Regions from separate parts of the Homo sapiens genome. Here region 1 is linked to region 2. Evidence: promoter capture Hi-C in 16 types of primary human blood cells and fetal thymus (Javierre and others, 2016). All regions are on one chromosome and are shown on one strand. The core of a region is centred on a gene start or on the middle of the fragment in contact, and the rest is flanking DNA. Distances in the headings are between cores, read along the strand shown.

Region 1 (2,700 bases), core at 29-2,528, 450 kb before region 2:
CAGAATGACAAAGAGGGAAAGAAAAGAAAGTGAAATAAGCAATGAAAAAGAGCACTGGACACTTCTGCTTTGGTGGAGGCAATTGGACTGGGAAAGGGCTACCCACCTCATGGCACGTAAGGCTAATTTATAGGACAGGTCTGGATCATGAGGCAGCAGAGCTGAGAACAAATACTTGGCAAAGGTATGCATGGGAACACTCTCTCGGTGGATGACTTCTCCCAGACCGCTGAAAGGACCTCCTGGAGGAAGATAAGCCAGCCAGTTATTTATCTGTATGCTTCCATCTGCCAGCCTGGACTTGAGCCCCAGTATCTCATGCATGTTTGCTAATCATGGGAACCTTCATTCACTACATTTTAATGTCATAAATGTTCCTGTACTTGTACTCTATTGGAGAGGGGAGCTCAGGGTCATGGGCCAAAGACACCGTGACAAGAGACTCTTTTCTACTTACCTTCCAGCAGTAAGATGCATTGTTTTTGCAGTGTTTGCACTAGCTCATCGTCCAGCTGCAGCTCTTGGAGTTGGCTCAGGAGCTGCTCCTCATTACGGCATACCTTGTCCTGTGCGTAGAGGCCTTCAGGCATTAACCTCTGTTGACCCAGGCCCATCAGTGCAACTTCCAGGGCCAATGACAGGTAGGACTCACTGCTGTTTGGGGAGCCTGCAGCCACAGGTACATGCTGGTACACAGGGGGTCTGCTTTCATTCATATCTGAGGGCAACAGGGCACCAAATTCTTTAGGTTAGGCTTGGTAGAGTCTTCTTTCTTTTTTTTTTTTTTTTTTGAGACAGAGTCTTGCTCTGTTGTCCAGGCTGGAGTACAGTGGTGCAATCTCAGCTCACTGCAGCCTCCGCCTCCCCGGTTCAAGCGATTTTCCTGCCTCAGCCTCCCAAGTAGCTGGGATTACAGGAGCATGCCACAACACCTGTCGAATTTTTGTATTTTTAGTAGAGGGGCGGTTTCATCATGTTGGCCAGGCTGGACTCAAACTCCTGACCTCAGGTGATCTGCCTACCTCGGCCTCCGAATGTGCTGGGATTACAGGTGTGAGCCACCGTATTCGGCCTAGTCTTCTGTCTTTCCCTCCCACCTTTGGGATACAGCTTGGTCAACAGCTATCATAGGGAAGCTGAATCAGAACCCCAGAATAGTAAGGAAAATATACTGAAAAAAAGGTTACACAGAGCCACAAAGATTCACACTTCTTTCTTTTTTAATTTTTTTGGAGACAGAGTCTTGCTTGGTTGCTAAGGCGGGAGTGTAGTGGTGCAATCATGGGTCACTGATGCAGCCTCAACCTCTTGGGCTCAAGCGACCCTCCCACTTCAGCTTCCTGAGTAGCTGGGACTACAGGCACATGCCACCATGCCCAGATAATTTTTAATTTTTTTTTGTAGAGATAGGGTCTCATTATGTTGCCCAGGCTGGTCTCAAACTCCTGGGCTCAAGTGATTTTCCCACCTTGGCCTCCCAAAATGCTGGGATTATAGGCATAAGCCACCATGCCCAGCCCCACCTCCTTTTTTTTTTTTTTTTTTTTGAGAGGGAGTCTCGCTCCATCTCCCAGGCTGGAGAGCAGTGGCACGGTATCGGCTTACTGCAACCTCCGCCTCCTGGGTTCAAGCAATTCATCTGCCTCAGCCTCCTGAGTAGCTGGGATTACAGGCACACACCACCACACCCAGCTAATTTTTATATTTTTAGTAGAGATGGGGTTTCACCATGTTGGCCAGGCTGGTCTCCAACTCCTGACCTCAGGTGATCTGCCTGCCTTGGCCTCCCAAAGTGCTGGGATTACAGGCGAGAGCCACTGCGCCCGGCCCATCTCCTTCTTAATATATGAACTGGCTAAGCCAGTTAGGGAAGTATAAAATCTTATATTTTGCTAGCACATTATGTAATGCTGTAATTGTCTGTTTTTGTTTCTGTCTCTTTCATAGAATGTGAACACCTTAAAGGGATTAGACCATCTTGTTGTTCTAGGTATTGCTATGTGTTAGTGGTGAATGAATAAACCCAAGTGCAAACTCAGGTTTCCAAGATGTAAATGTCACTGTACAGATGAAACAGACCAAAGATGATGATTCACTTTGCAAGGGATCAGAGGGAAGATAAGGAGCAGCCTGCACTTGGCTTGGGGCCACCCCTTATATCTCTACCCAGAGAAATCTGAATCCCTACAGTTAAACTCTTAACTTTTGTAACATTTGCAACCTTTATGTTACTATTATCTCATATGCTCCACCAGTGGGTGCACAATTTCAGGAAGTAAGCACGGTTTAAAAGTCAAAGTCTTGGTTTCTTTTCTTTTCTCCCTCATCTATCTAATAAGTATTTATGAAAGATTGTTAAATGTCAGGTCCTCCACTAAGTGCTAGGAACACAAAGATAAAGAAGTCATAATTTCTGTTTTCAAGTAGCTGACAGTCTAGTAAGAGAGAACTATTTGTAAATAAATTGTAATGTAGCATGCTAAATACTAAAGTAGATATATGTATACAGTAAGTGAAGGTATAAAAGAAAAAAGAATCAATTTTGTCTCTATCTATTCTTGGCTACTCTAATAGAGTCTTGAGGCTCTATTAAATTATTCTCCTCTATTTCTTATTTGTAAAATTGGTACAAAACCATCATGTGGAAGAAAGTTCAAAGGAAACCAGAAAATATTATTATGCAATTGCAAGGGATACACA
Region 2 (2,700 bases), core at 128-2,627:
TCAAAAAAAACAAAAACTAACAAACAAACCCTGAAACTTAACTTGTTCAAAACCAAATTTATTACCTTCTCTCAAAATTGCTTTTTTATGCTCCCTATTTCAGATGAGATCAGGAGCGTTGAGGGTGGTATAACCAGAGACTATGTTCCCTATTTCAATTAACACTACCGATTCACACCATCAGCCAAGTCAGAAACTTTCTACTATTCTTCTCAACTTTATTTTGAAACCTCTTGGAATTTCGGGCCATTCCCTCCCGCCTGGATGAGCACACTCGTTTTCTGCCTACCTGGCCTTTCCGCCTCCACGGTCTTCACTTTCAATCCTTCCTCTATATTTTCACCAAAGATAATGCAATCATACCAAGCTCCTGCTTACAAAACCTTCAACGGCTCCCCATGCATGCAGCATGAAGTCCAAATTCCTCAGCAAGTTCTTCTCAGAGGTATACAATTTAAAGACTTTTAAATTACGCAAACCTGGATTTCGCTTGTAGCGAAATCTGAACACTGGCTTAGTCCACTCTTCACAGCGAAGAGTAAAAAGCAGAGAGGGGAAAGGAAGGGAGACGATGACAAGCGAGGAAAGAAGAGGGGGAAGGCAGTAGGGTCTGAGGGGAGGGAATTGTTTTCCTGGGTAGAGGTGAACGTTTTCGAGGGAAGAGTGTATCGGAGGGAAGTCAAGTGAAGGAACCCAGATCTCTGAGGCAGGAGCGGGTATGCGAGCAGGGAGGCGCTCAGTGGGGAGCTGGAAGTCTCTGAAACAAGAGTTTTCCGAGAAAACGAAAGATCCCTAATGCGAGCGAGGTAACTTCTAATGGGTTCCCAGGTTCTAAGGGGGAGCAGACGTGGCGGGGAGCCTGAGGGAAGTGAGAAGGAAAGGGGAAAGCGGCCAGGAAGGGAGCGTCCGCCGCCGCTGAGAGGGGGACCTCTGGGAAGCCGAGGGGTCCCGTCGGGTGCGGAGGGACGCAGGCGCCTCTGCTCCGGGGCAGAGGAGGTGGAGCGGCAGCGCGCGCGGGCCAGGCAGGATGCCCGGGTTTGTGACCCCCGTCCTCTTTTCACGTTACCTGAGGCAGGACTGAGCAGCCAGAGGGGTGCCTGCGCGGGCAAGAGGAGGAGACGGCGGCAAAGAGGGAGCATAGTAACCCTCACAGCTCGTTGGTGGCAGCGGCTCCTTAGCCTGCGGAGGCGGTGGGAGCCCCTAGCGCAGAAGCCGGCGACTCAGCTAGGCTAGCGGCGGCGGCGAACGAGGAGACTACTGCCATGGCCCCACAGTCGGGGCCGCTCCCCCCGCCTGTTTGGCGGGGCCAGGAGGACGATCCGACCAGCGAAGCCAACAGGGCAGCTGGTAGCTCTGCTGAGCTCCCGGGCCGCGAAAGACTGAAACGCCTACCCGGCCCAGCAGGGGGGTTGGGGGCGGGGTCTCGGCTGGCCACGCCCCTCCCTCAAGCCCTCCCTCAGAGTAGCCAGTCAACCGTCAACTCCTGATAAACGAGGTAGTGGAATTGCCCAATTAGCGCTAGGAATGCCACGTGGTATGAGGGTGGGCACAATGGGCGTCCAGAAAAGCCAATCAACAGCCGTAGGTGCCAACTCCGGAGGACGAAGGGAACCAATAGGAAGGAAGTCGAGGTAAAAACAGAAGAAGCAGTGTGTGGGAAAGGCGGAACCGAGGAGGAGGGAATACACCTGGGGGAAACCCAAGTCCAGGAGCCTCTTAGAGGGCGGGGCAGTAAACACAAGATGGACCAATAAAAATGTTAAACACAGAAATGATTGGTAATTGATAAAGCCAATAGAAAATGGACTAGACTGGCGCGGCTTTCGGGTTGGTCAAGGTATAGCTGAGTAAGGAAAAGCGGTAAGAATGCTGCGTCCTGCAGGATTTCAGTATAGTGAGGAGGAAAAAATATATCAATAATACCGACTTGAAATAGTAAGAGCAATCAGTAGAGCTAAACAAAATGCTAGGGAAGCAATTAATCATGACTATGAGATTCGGTTAAGTGAAAGCTTAGAGGAGGTAACACTTCAGCTAGCTTGAAAACAGATTTTGAAAGAAAGCTGGTGGGGAATAAGTTGGGATTTTTTGTTGTTTTTGTTGGTTGTTTTTTTTTTAGAAGGGTCTCACTCTGTCGCCCAGGATGATGGAGTGCAATGGAGCGATCATGGCTCACTTGCAGCCTCAAACTCCTGGATTAAGATGATCCTCCCAACTCAGCCTCCCCGGATAGCTGGGACTACAGGCACACGCCAGCATGCCTGACTAATTTTTTGTATATTTTGTAGAGACGGGGTTTACCATGTTGCCCAGGCTGGTCTGTAACTCCTGGACTCAAGTGATCGGCCCACGTTGGCCTACGAAAGTGCCGGGATTACAGGCGTGAGCCACCGCTCCCAGCTAAGAATTCTGCCCAGCTGTTCAAGGCACATATTTCTTCACTTTTTGCATGTGCCTGGACATCAGGAGCTCATAATCTCATGACTGAAGAGACTAGAACAGGAGGAGGGCAAGAGCAAGCAGTATGGGCCTTACTGTATTAGCACTCCCAGGGGTTAGAGACCCCTTTTCAGACATCTTAAGACTTTCATCCTCCTGGAAGAGTATAAGTGGTATGCATTCCTGGTGGCCATAAAGTTTAAGAAATATGGCCAGGGCCGGGAGCAGTGGATCACGCCTGTAATCCCACCACTTTGGGAG

What was found. Contacts are between HindIII fragments. The CHiCAGO score rates a contact against its expected background, and 5 or more counts as called.
Region 1: a fragment that was not itself captured here is called in contact with the fragment with the promoter of TESK2 in region 2 in 2 of 17 cell types (erythroblasts and total B cells); the score reaches 7.5 in erythroblasts.

Annotation. Positions count from the first base shown.
Region 1 is chr1:45,035,582-45,038,281 of GRCh38, forward strand. It overlaps ZSWIM5 (zinc finger SWIM-type containing 5), which reads right to left. Exons shown (of 14, transcript NM_020883.2): 9 at 458-718; 10 at 107-242. Among named protein-coding and RNA genes, the nearest start is that of UROD, 25 kb to the left of the region's middle. The HindIII fragment of the contact is 4,650 bases long and covers 1-2,700 here.
Region 2 is chr1:45,489,786-45,492,485 of GRCh38, forward strand. TESK2 (testis associated actin remodelling kinase 2) reads right to left here and starts at 1,378. Exons shown (of 11, transcript NM_007170.3): 1 at 1,067-1,378. RefSeq lists enhancers at 1,036-1,085, 1,372-1,666 and a silencer at 1,316-1,535. The HindIII fragment of the contact is 2,357 bases long and covers 1-2,010 here.